Regions from separate parts of the Homo sapiens genome. Here region 2 is linked to region 1. The links are contacts of gene promoters, found by promoter capture Hi-C in blood cells and fetal thymus (Javierre and others, 2016). All regions are on one chromosome and are shown on one strand. The core of a region is centred on a gene start or on the middle of the fragment in contact, and the rest is flanking DNA. Distances in the headings are between cores, read along the strand shown. Region 1 holds the start of ENOX2 (ecto-NOX disulfide-thiol exchanger 2). Region 2 holds the start of PABIR3 (PABIR family member 3).

The links. Contacts are between HindIII fragments. The CHiCAGO score rates a contact against its expected background, and 5 or more counts as called.
Region 2: a contact is called between a fragment that was not itself captured here and the fragment with the promoter of ENOX2 in region 1, in 4 of 17 cell types (non-activated CD4 T cells, total B cells, total CD8 T cells and 1 more). The highest score is 15.7, in non-activated CD4 T cells.

Annotation. Positions count from the first base shown.
Region 1 is chrX:130,900,416-130,906,687 of GRCh38, reverse strand. It overlaps ENOX2 (ecto-NOX disulfide-thiol exchanger 2), which reads left to right and starts at 3,479. Exons shown (of 15, transcript NM_006375.4): 1 at 3,479-3,639; 2 at 4,957-5,004. RefSeq lists enhancers at 3,264-3,453, 3,074-3,593, 3,464-3,733, 3,594-4,113. The HindIII fragment of the contact is 1,854 bases long and covers 2,990-4,843 here.
Region 2 is chrX:134,804,425-134,810,696 of GRCh38, reverse strand. PABIR3 (PABIR family member 3) reads right to left here and starts at 3,460. Exons shown (of 11, transcript NM_001388447.1): 1 at 3,356-3,460; 2 at 2,989-3,157. The coding sequence starts at 3,098. RefSeq lists a silencer at 1-66 and enhancers at 1,602-2,558, 2,944-3,103. The HindIII fragment of the contact is 1,289 bases long and covers 2,530-3,818 here.

The DNA of each region.
Region 1 (6,272 bases), core at 2,230-4,729:
GCCATACACAGCTGTGACATACACAGTAAGAAATATTACTTATCACAGCTATGTATTTTAATTATTTATCTTGTTTGTTGATGGCTTCTTCCTAACAGAATATAGCCTCCAAAGGGAAGGGATGTTGTATGTGTTTTCCACTTCTCTATTCCCAGCATCTAGAATAATGTCTGGCACATTATAGGTACTCAATAAAAACTTGTTATATTGATGAAGGAGTAATTTCTTCTTACTATTCTGTCCTGCTACTTGACCTCTCTGTAATATATGCCAGTAATTCTACTTTGTTTTCTCTTGGTTCATCTGTTTGGGCATTCCCTCTCAGCTTCCTTGGAAGGCATCTCTTCTTCTACTTGCTACTTGAATATCATTATTTTCCAGGATTCCATAATCTTTGTCTTTTTAAAAACTATTATTCTAAATACTCTCTAAATTGGCTGGGCACAGTGGCTCACGCCTGTAATCCCAGCACTTTGGGAGGCTGAGGCGGGTGGATCACTTGACGTCAGGAGTTCGAGACCAGCCTGGGCAACACAGTGAAGCCCCATCTCTACTAAAAATAAAAAAAAAAATAGCCAGCTGTGGTGGCAGGCACCTGTAATCCCAGCTACTCGGGAGGCTGAGGCAGGAGAATCACTTGAACCCAGGAGGCAGAGGTTGCAGTGAGCCGAGATTGTGCCACTGCACTCCAGCCTAGGCAACAGGGTAAGAAACCGTCTCAAAAAAAAAAATACTCTCTAAGTAAAGTTTAAACAATTTTTCACTTATTTAATTGCCCTCTATATTATACTAATGTCTCCCAAATGTTTAGTTCCAAGCAAGACCTCTCTCCCAAGCTTCCGACCGGCATTTCTCAGCAGCCTATCAGGCATCTCCAACCAAAAGTTCCACAGACTCTTCAAATTTTAAATGTTCAAAACTGATTTCCTCCTATTCTTCACAAAACTTGCTATTCTTTCTAGGTTCAATATCTCAGTGAATGGTACTACCATACACTTAGTCTTCCAAGTCAGAACTTGGGAGTCGTAATGGACTCCTCCCCGTCTCTCACTTTCCACATCTACCAACTCCATCTGATTATTCCATTTCCTGCTAGAAATACTTTGATGAACAGGAACCCATGTTTTAACTCACCATTAAAACCCAAAACCTGTCATAGTGTATGGAACATAGTAGGTGCTCTGCAAATACTTTGAAATCAATGATCAAATCAAAGTAAAGAGTCATGGAAAAAAAGATAAAAAGAAAGGAGACAAAGCTGAGAAAAGAAATTCTGCATTTGATTCACACAATGTTTTTCTGGTGGCCATAATACTGAAAATGCCTTGTTTCACTCCTTTTTATGGCTGAAATGAGGTGATTTTTCTTTTTCTCTTTTTTCTTTCTTTTTTTAATTTTTTAATTTTTTTTGAGACAGAGTCTTGCTCTATCACCCACTACACTCGAGTGTAGTGGTACAATATCGGCTGACTGCAGCCCTAACTTTCCAAGCTCAAGGGATCCTCCTGCTTCAGCTTCCTGAGTAGCTGGGACTACAGGCATGCGCCACTATGCCTGGCTAATTTTCTTGATTTTTTGTAGAGACAAGGTCTCATTATGTTGCCCAAGCTGGTCTCGAACTCCTGGGCTCAAGCAATCCTCCCAACTTGGTGTCCCAAAGTGCTAGGGTTACAGGCATGAGCCCCGGCACCCAGCCGATTTTTCTTTTTTTAAAAAAGCAAATTATTTTCCTGGAGGAATTTAAAAGTATAAAAAGTATTAAAACATAATATAGCAATTCAATTACCACCCTCCAGAATGATTCCCCATAATACCCTAGCTATGTGTTCCCAGTATGTTCTATGTGTATATGCTTTAAAAAATAAACACTATATAAGCACAAAAATTCCTCTGATGGTTCTCTCCCACTTTCAAGTTAAATTATGAACTAATTGATATGACCCCTTGTTGCTGCCTGATCTAGTCTCTGCAATATGGAACTTTTGCTATTGTTCTCTGCACTCTTTCATGCCTTTATGCCTTTGCATATGCTTTGTATAGAATATGGTTGACCTCCCTGCCCCAAATCTGACAAATATTTTACTGGTTCTTCAACCAGTTCTCCAGAAGTAGAACAAGTTCTTCCTCCTCTATGTTCCTATAGAACCCTATGTAGACTTCTTTACAGCATTTTGCACATTGTATACTCATCTATTCCTCCCCCCAGATTCTCCTCTACTACAACTCCCCTCACCTGGATTTTGAGCTACTTGAGGGTAGGGACTATTTTTCCAATTCTGTGGCAACAGTGCCTAGCCCAGAGCTTTGCACAAAGCACTATGCTGAATAAATGGTTGAATTTATTAAATCGTCTTCCTCCTTCACTTATCTTTTTAAAATATTGGGCAATTACCTCAGCAAAATGCAATTCCCCTGTCTTTCCCTTCATTTTACTCGTGAGTCGAAAAGTTGTCCTCATCAAGAAGTTGTAGTAATTCAACTGTAACAAGGCTACAAGGATTCATCTCTAACAGAGAAAAAAAAAGGTCAAAAGTTGGGAGTGAAATTAGCCCTAATAAACAACCATTTTCCTCAACCTTTAAGTCACTTGGAAGTGCTTGGCATTCCCCACCTATGTCTTTATCCAGCTCTTGTAACATATTTTTACTCAAAAGGTTAAGTTTCTTAAAGACACATATAGTTACTCGTTTGTACTTAAGTTGTATTGTCTATCTGTTCTAAATTGTTATTTATAGCAGTTTATGTGGCCACTGTTTTTCATGGCAACAACATAGCTTCATTATGGATTAAATAGGCTTCTTCTGGGCTGGTGTAGATCACATTTCTATGCCTATTTATGACACTGTTTCCAGGGGGAACTATAATTTCCAATTAGAAAAAAATATATACATTCTTCCATACCTTTCAAGTGATTTTAATGCAGGTGGTTCACAAGGAACACACTTTAACAATTTTAAAGGACTATAACTCTCAATTAAAATTCTAAGCTTACCAAAGAATAAACATCATCTTTTGAAAAACACTTAAAACTCAATAACAATTTCAAATCACGATAGAAAGTGCTTCCCGCAAAATGCTAAGAGCTTAACCGACATGAAAATAAATCTAGAGCCTTCGTCTGTCCCCACAAGCACAAACCCATAACCCCAAGAGAGATTCTCTAGACAGTGCACCCAAACTACAATACCCAGAATACCCTTCCCCGTCTGAACGCTGGGGACAATCGGAAGGGGAGGGGAAGAATTGTGCGTATAGAGAAATAAGTGTCCCGCAACTCCATCTCCCATAATTCTCGGTCCTCACTTGTGTCTGTCTGCCAATGTCAACACGAGTTACCCCCAGGAAGAACAGCCTCCAGCGACCTCAAACTACATTTCCCATGAAGCCATGGGCTCGGGCCTCCGGCTTCCCCGGTGACCAGTAGCCAATAGGAGACGCCGCAGTGGGCACCCTGTGTGTGAGAGTCCAGCCTTGGGCCAGAGTGCCGGGTCTAGGCCTGGAAGCGCGAGGCGGGCATTTCGGAAGAGAGTGGCGCGGCGTGGGGCGCCGCGAGGGCACTACGAGCCCAGGAACTGCCGCGCCGGCCCGATTTTCCGCGGCTGTATAAGGACTAGCGCTTCGGTAGCCGGGGAGCTGGAGGTCAGAGAGGCAGAAAGCCCCGGTGGCCGTGGCTGGGGACTGTGGGACTGAGGGGGCCTAGGGAGGAGGGTGCTTCCGGGGCCGCGGTCCTCAGCGCCTAACTCCACCCAGCTCCACCTCTGCAGGGGAGGGGGTATCGGGACTGGGAGTCGGGGGTGGGCTTTTGAGCTCTAGGCGCCAGTTCTCTTGAGCCCGGGAGCGCGCTGTCTTTGCTCTTTTTTTTTTTTTTTTTTGGTCCAACTCGCCCGCCCCTTTTTTTTTTTCCCACGACGCCGCCCCCCTCCCCCTGGCTCTGTGCCTCCTCAGAGGTCCGAAGTTGGGGTTTGCGTCCAGGGTTTTGCCTAGGCGGTGACTGGACTCTAATTCTTACCGCAGGAATTGGGTGATCTCTTTCCTCTTTTCCCTCAATTTGTATTTCAGGTTTGGGCACATAACCCTCCCTGCGCTACACTCCCCATTTTCTTTGGGGCATGGGAATTCCTTGCCACGCTCAGGGCGTGACTTTTTTTTTTCAAACTTTCTCTTTTTGCCTCCTTAATTGATCGCCATCTCTTTACTGGCCCCTCAGCCACCTGCCACTTCCCCCACCAGGTCTTTGAAGTGGGGAGAGTTTCCCCTCAATTTCTAGAAGGGATGGGAAGCAAAAGAGGGAAGGAATCTTGCTTTTGAGAAATGTGTGTTTAAGGTTCAGTGCAGGGTTCTGGTGAGAGTAAAAGGCAAGTTAGACTGGTTATAAAAATCCAGCGCTTTAGGGGTTTCCAGCAAAGACTGATAGCACTAATGTTGACAAACATTTAGGGGGCACACCTTTATTCTACAGAATAAAGTAGACCGTGTGAAACAGACCATATTAATCATTGTATTATTACAAACGTGTGCAAAAAACGCTAAGAGGGGTCAGTGGAAGAGCATACTGATGGGGGTGGTGAGTTCATCTATGGAAGTTCAAGCCTAACCCGGGAAGTGCTGAAGCCCTCATCCGGCTTTCAGGCTTTGTGAAGGAGGTGAATTTTAATCTGGGCTCCAGCAGAGTACAGGGGATTTGAAGTTGTCAAAGAGGAGGGAGAAAATGCTTCCTGCTACTGAGATTGGACTTTGAGAAGGGTAAACAGAAGAGGGAGCACTGTGAGACAGGTGGGCTTGCCTGATTGGAATAAAAGATATCAGCACAAATATACTGGGAAATAAATAGGGTGGAGAAGCTTGGGGTCATAATAACATGATACTTTGAAACATACACATAGTTTGGATATTATTCTGTATCAAATAAAATTGAAGGCAAAAATTAAGATTGGATGATTTTTCTTTTCATCCTAGGGAACCTGATTTGAGATCAATTCTTGGAGAACACAAAGAAGTGTGATGGTATGTTCCAGGTGTGAGTTTAAATCCAAGAAGAAGCTTGTCTTGCAGATGTTTTGTTTGTAGCTATTCTTAGCTACAGTCTATAGCTGTCAACTTTAAAGCCTAGAGACATCGATATATTTTCTTAAGAAATGCATTTGCTGTCCCCGTGCATCACATTATCTGAACTGTAGTCATCTCATTGGGTGACAATAATGACTGCTATTTATTGAACCCACATAATGTCCTAGTCATCATCATAAATACTTTGTTGCATTATCTTGAGTGTTATGAAGTAGGTACTATTATTCCTGTTTCTTTTTCTAGAAGAAAACACTAAAATGCACAGAAGTTAAACAATCTACTTAAAGTCACATAGATTATAAGTTGAGTTGAGGTTTGGGTGTACAGATTTCTGACTCCAAAGCCCATGCTCTGTTCAACATGGTTTGCTGCTCCCAATGTTCTTTCTTGTTCTTGACTTTCCAGTTGTGGTAAGGAGAGATAGGTATAGTTCATCATCCTGGCCAAAACCCAAATGATTCACTTAAAATTTCTATGTCAGAATGTATTTGCTGTAAAGTAGCTGCCAAAACCAAATTAACTGTCATTGCAACTGTAGCTAATTGTGTCTGCCAAAACCATAGTCAGTACGGCTATTTCTGAATTAGATGATTCTCTTTATAACACATATCATACCTCTAAGCTATTTGGACCTTGATAGCACTTTGGATGTATTTTATTTTAGCATTTTAAGAAGTTACCTGGGACACTAGATCTCTTTCATGACCTCTGCCCACGTGAAGTGTTGGAGAAACAATGAAGTACAAGGTGTGAACTCTTCCTGGGGTCTAGCTGGGGAGCTGGATGCCCACAGTTCTGAGATACTGTAGTGTGTAGTATAACAGAGACAGGTACAAAATGCTATGGAGGGATAAAGGAAGGTGTGACTCACTGTAAGGGAGACTCGGGGAGAAGGCTTCCATGAGGAGGTGACATGAGATAGGTCTTGAAGGATAGTGAGTTTGCCCCAGGCAGGGAAGGAGTGGAGGGGAGGCATTTCAGATAGAGGAGTCAGTCTGTGAAAGATGTGTGGCTGTATAAGAGTAGGGCATGTTCATTCAATGTGGAAGAATTCAGCATGGTTGGAGTGCAGATAGTTGAGTAAAAGGAAACTGTAATGGGTAGGAGAAGAGTCTGGAAAGAGGTTGGGGCTGATTTGCAAAGAACCTTGATTGCAATCCTAAGTTGGAATGTGCCCCCATAGGTCAGTGGTTCTCAAAACGTAG
Region 2 (6,272 bases), core at 1,925-4,424, 3.9 Mb before region 1:
GGAGAAAAGTGAGCAGTATACATATGCAAATGAGAACTGAGGTGAAAATGAATTCAACTAAGGCTCAGTGTAATCCTACTCTAAATTTTTCTTGCTTCAGAATAACTTCTCTGACTATGCCCTACATTTTCTACAACAGCACAAAATATGCCCTCAGATCATCTGGGCAAGTCCCCTAATCTCAGGGATGTCACACATCATTCCTATGTTACTTCTTTCTGACAGACTAGAGTCCCTGGACTCCGTCCACTTTGTGGTTTCTGTATCTTTAAACTCCTACTACAGAAATATGCTAGTGACCCTTATCTTTCTGTACAAATTTTACTTCATGCATCAGGATCTTAAGCTATGGAATGTAACACTGTAGCTATGCTCTAATATAAGCAAAAAACAAACAAACAAAACAAAAAAATCCTTTGCAGAACAAAGCAAGGTATGAAGGGATAACTGAGATCTCTCTGTTTCCAGGGCTTTAAGGATTAGGGAAGGGTCCACTCCTTCTCTGGTGTATTTAATACATTAAAGAGGATCCACAGGTTCCTTCCAGTACACATCTTCCATCGTCTATTTGCAACCTATTTCTTCTTTTTATATTGTCTTCAATAAATCCAACATTCTCCCTACTGCTCTCTTCTACTAGTAGAGTGGGTCCCATAATTCCTTTTTCCCACAACAGAATTAGAGCAAAATCCTGAGTGAATAAAATGTTCTTGTTCTCAGCACAACATGCAGAGTCCCCCTTCTATGTTTTTCTACCTGCCTATTTTAAAAAGGTAATGTATTTTTTTTTGGTCAATCTTAGTTTGCTTTTCATTTTGTGAACAATATATTCTCTCCTACCTCAAATGACCCAAAAGCTGCATTCATTTAGAGTTAATCAGCTTAGGTATTGGTTAGTAGTGGCCAGAACAGTAGTTTAGGAGTCAGGAAACAGAGCTTCCTAGTACTGGCTCTGCCACTAAACGTCATTTTGGAGATTTATGGGCCTCAGTTTCCTCATATGTTAAACAAGGAGGGTAAAGCTGGTCTCTGAATCCCTTCCTGATAGTCTATGGTACTGTGAATTACAACTATCAATTAGTATGATGCAACAAAAGGTGAAGAGCAAAGTTAGTAACATATGTAGTGAATGCATTTTTCAGACATTTTTACGGTATCTAGAAAACCTTATAATACTGAAATGTGAAATCCAACATCTCATTTTAAAAGTCTAGTTTAAGAAGTAAGATTTAGGCCAGGCGCAGTGGCTCACGCCTGTAATCCCAACACTTTGGGAGGCCAAGGTGGGCGGATCACAAGGTCAGGAGATCAAGACCATCCTGGCTAACACGGTGAAACCCCGTCTCTACTAAAAATACAAAAAATTAGGTGGGCGTGGTGGCGGGTGCCTGAAGTCCCAGCTACTCGGGAGTCTGAGGCAGGAGAATCGCTTGAACCCGGGAGGCAGAGGTTGCAGTGAGCCGAGATCATGCCACTGCACTCCAGCCTGGGCGACACAGTGAGACTCCGTCTTAAAAAAAAAAAAAAAAGGAAACAAGATTTAGTAATCCCAGATCTTCAGAAATACAGTTAACCATCATTTAGTGTAGTGTTTCTAAATCCTTTTTTCATTATTGACCCTCTAAAAAGCCTTTTTAGACATTTTTCCCCTAATTGCTCCCCCTTCGTGAAATTTTAATAACACATATATAGTATATATCTGTGTACATACTGTATGTATATCTGCGCTTTATACATAAAAAGAGTAAAAATTTTTCACACTCCCCCAAGAACTATTTTCTCTTCCCCTTGGGGGAAGTATCACCCAGTGAGAATGTGTAATTTAGGAGATCAAGCTTCTGTGGTACCAAAACTTTCTGCTCCAATAAAAAATAGGTGTAGGCCAGGAGCAGTGGCTCACGTCTGTAATACCAGCACTTTGGGAGGCTGAGGCAGGCGGATCCCCTGAGGCCAGGAGTTCGAGACCAGCCTGGCCAACATGGTGAAACCCTGTCTCTACTAAAAATACAAAAAATTAGGCCGGGCACGGTGGCTTACGCCTGTAATCCCAGCACTTTGGGAGGCCGAGGCGGGCGGATCACGAGGTCAGGAGATCAAGACCATCCTGACTAACACGGTGAAACCCTGTCTCTACTAAAAATACAAAAAATTAGCCGGGAGTGTTGGTGGGCGCCTGTAGTCCCAGCTACTTGGGAGGCTGAGTCAGGAGAATGGCGTGAACCCGGGAGGTGGAGCTTGCAGTGAGCCGAGATCACGCCACTGCACTCCAGCCTGGGCGACAGAGTGAGACTCCGTCTCAAAAATAAATAAACAAATAAATAAAAAATAAAAATACAAAAAATTACCAGGTGTGGTGGTGGGCGCCTGTAATCCTAGCTACTAGGGAGGCTGAGGCATGAGAATTGCTTGAAGCCAGGAGGCGGAGGTTACAGTAAGCTGAGATCGTGCCAATGCACTCCAGCCTGGGCGACAGAGCAAGACTCCGTCTCAAAAAAAGACAAAAAAAAAAATGTAAAAAAGTCCAAAGCTTATTTGCTTGACAACCATTTCCATTCAAGCGGCTGGAGGTGAAGGTCAGAGGTGACAAAGCAGCTGAAATGACAAATATTACAGTCATGGCAGAAGATCTGGAGGTGAGTGGGGGAGGATACTAAGTTTCTTCAAAGGAGTGGGTAAGAAATGGGTTGAAGTTAGAAAAAAGCCGTGCTCCACACCAACTGGCTGCTACTTTCGGGTCCGAGTGGACTATCAGGGGAGGATGTTCAGATTCAGATGTTTGTCAACCTCAGGGTGGGTGCGCGCTCCCCCTCAGGTCAGCCCGTCCCACTACCCCCACCCAAGGTTGAGGGTGGGATCTCCGGACACCAGGAACAAGGGAGTTACCTGCAGAACCTCAACAAATAAAGGGACGGGAATTCTATAGGAAATCACTTTCCCGAACACCTCCTCCCCACCGCTTGCCTCCTCCAGTATCTCAACCCGGCTCACCCAAGTCCATTGATCAAAGGGGCACTGTTGACTCTTCTCAGAATGTTGCCGTCTGCGGTAGTGGAACTCGGCAGCGACTTGAAACCTAGTTTCATTTTCTCCTGTGCCATGTCCGGGTCGAGGAATAAGTTCTCAAGGCTTTCCGGCTCCCGTCCACACAAGGACAAGTCTACTTAGTGGGCAGGTGATGTAAGGAGAGAGGCAAAGGGGAAAAAGAGAAGAGAGGAGAAAGCTCTTAGGCGAGTAGGGGTGCCCACCTTTGCAGCCCTAGCAGCCCTAACATCAGTGAACACAAAGTTAGGCAGAACTGGCTCCGAACCGCCTATCTCCCATGATCGGGGCCTCTAACGATGAGAAGATCCCCCACCTCCAAGTCTATAATGTAACTGGGGAATTTAATCTGTCACCGCCGCGAATCCTTCTCCATCTCTCTCAGCCCTGGCAACTCATGGTAAGCCTTTCCGGCCAAAACAAAAACTACAATCTGCCGCCTTTGACAATCAGTTGGGTCCCGCCCCTCAGAGCCTGCGATAAGCTATCAGCCGGACGACGCCTGTTGTGATGCAGGCAATGACGTCACTTCAGGCGCCTTAGTCAGCTTTGCCAGGGGCGCACGCGCAGTTAAGAAACCGCTTTATCCCCATGTCCTGCCCTCCTTCCTCTTTCCCCAATGCCCACTTACCGTGGTTGTGCCTCTACTCTTTTACTAACCCTGGCATGGTTTCCTTAAGCATTATTTAGAAATGAAAGCGTTGGGAGGAGTGAGGTCCTTCCTGCCCTATGCCTAATTCTCATTTTTCTTATCCCTTTATGACTGAGGCCAACAAGCTTCTAACCTCCTATGATGCATTTTTCCATCCTGTAACAGCAGACACACTACACCTTTGTAATTTTAGAAAAGCAAAAGTCTGAAAAAAAAAAAAAAAAAAAGATACTGCTACCTAAGTGCTTAGAGGCCACTTGGTCCCAAAGGGTCTTGCTAAGGTGCTAACCTAACTGAGCTCATTTGGCAAACGAATTACTGTTTTCAGTGTGGTTTCTTTCTTTCTTTTTTAAACCATAATCGTACAGTTTTTTGTTTTTTTTTTTTTGAGATGGAATTTCGCTCTTGTTGCTCAGGCTGGAGTGCAGTGGCCGCGATCTCGGCTCACTGCAACCTCCACCTCCCAGGTTCAAGCGATTCTCCTGCCTCAGCCTCCCGAGTAGCTGGGATTACAGGTGCTCGCCACCACGCCTGGTTAATTTTTGTATTTTAGTAGAGACGGGGTTTCACCATGTTGGCCAGGCTGGTCTCGAACTCCTGGACCTCAGGTGATCCGCCCGCCTCGTCCTCCCAAAGTGCTGGGATTACAGGCGTGAGCCACCGCGCCTGCCTCAGTGTGTATTTTTACATTATATATAATCTGGCTCCTCACAGCTATTCATATAAAAAATAAAGACCTCAGCTAATTTACAAAGATTTGAGTTAAAGCAGTGAGGCTTTTTTAAAAACAAATATCTCAGAATTTAGTATCAATGCAAATCAGTGTTTTCATTTCAGGTAGTATTAGAAGCTACATACATTCTAAGAATGCTGCCATGGCTCATATCGTTTTAAGAACTACTCTTTTAGAAATTTTCACCATCACTTAATGAGCCACACTGAGTACTGAAATCTTAACTCCATGCTAATAATTTTGTAAAACCACACATTTTAGTAACCATATAGAGAACTGGCAGACAAGGCAAATAAACCTAGTGAAATGGGAGTTATTAATTAAAATAGTCATAACACTGGTATAGCACTTTACGGATAACATTTTTTTTTTTTTGAGACGGAGTTTCGCTCTTGTTGCCCAGGCTGGAGTGCAATGGCGCAATCTTGGCTCACCACAACCTCCACCTCCCTGGTTCAAGCGATTCTCCTGACTCAGCCTCCAGAGTAGCTGGGATTACAGGCATGTGCCACCACTCCCAGCTAATTTTGTATTTTTAGTAGAGATGGGGTTTCTCCATGTTGGTCAGGCTGGTCTCGAACTCCCGACCTCAGGTGATCCACCCGCCTCGGCCTCCCAAAGTGCTGGGATTACAGGTATGAGCCTCCACGCCTGGCCTACAAAATGTTTTCACATACTTATCTGGATTGGTTCAATCATCAACCCTGCTCAGCTACCCAGTGGTGAACTTAAAATAATGGGACAGTCTTGAGATAGTTCGTGACAAGTTATGACATGTAAGGTAATAAATATGTATTCTTTGTTCATTCTGGGAATAGAATAAGACAAACTTGAGTATATTAGGCAGAATTAGATTACTTAAATCCCAGACATGAGGATGATGTGGAGTCTCCATTCCTTATATAAGACAGATTAGTAATAGCTACCGTTTGTTGGGCACTTACTATGTGCCAGGTACTGTCCTAATCACTTTAAATAGGTGATTGCATTTAAAGTTTACAATAATTCTTTGAGGTAGGCACCATCACAATGCCCATTTTTCACAGGAGGAAACCAAAGCCCAGAGGGGTTTACTCAAGTTGCAACTACTAAGTGGCAAAGCCAAGATTCCTCTGCCCTTCTGTTTAAGTAAAAAAAAAAATGAGATGCCTCAGAATATCTCCTTGAATTTCTGTACTCATAAGCACTTGATAAATACTTCTGAAATTATTTTATGAATAAATGCAGGTTTAAATAGCCTATCTTTCATAGTTATCTTGTAAAGTAGGTAAATCATTTCTATTTTACAGTTGGATAAAATTCCAAAGAGATTAATGGCACATAATTAGATAGCAGGAGAATTCAGGCTAGTATCAAGATGTCCTAAAAGCCACTGTTAAAATTCCCAGGGTACCTGAACGTTTATAAAAGATGGTGGTTAAAGCTGAGTAAATTCAGGATGAATGCAGAAGGCAGTGATTAAAGACAGAACAGAGTCAAAAAACAAATTGTCTGAATAACAGAAAAATATGAAGCAGGCCAGTGAACAAGGGAATCTTACCTCCATTGTGTTCATTTTAATTTTCAACTTTTGCTAGTATTCTTGGCAGGTAGTAAGGTTTCATACGTATATTTTGAATAAATAGACAAAATTTCATCCTGCCTAAGCATTACAAGTATCTAATTTTTAAATAAGTACAACAACACTAAGAAAATAGGTATAATAAAATGACAAGGGAAGAGTGACTAAGGGACTATGTTTCTAAGAAAAGGAGTAATATGAAATAACTAAATATATGAGATGGTAATAAGTTTACAGCTATTATCAAAGAGAAGGAGCTCTCTTTTACAAAAGAACAGCTACATGTC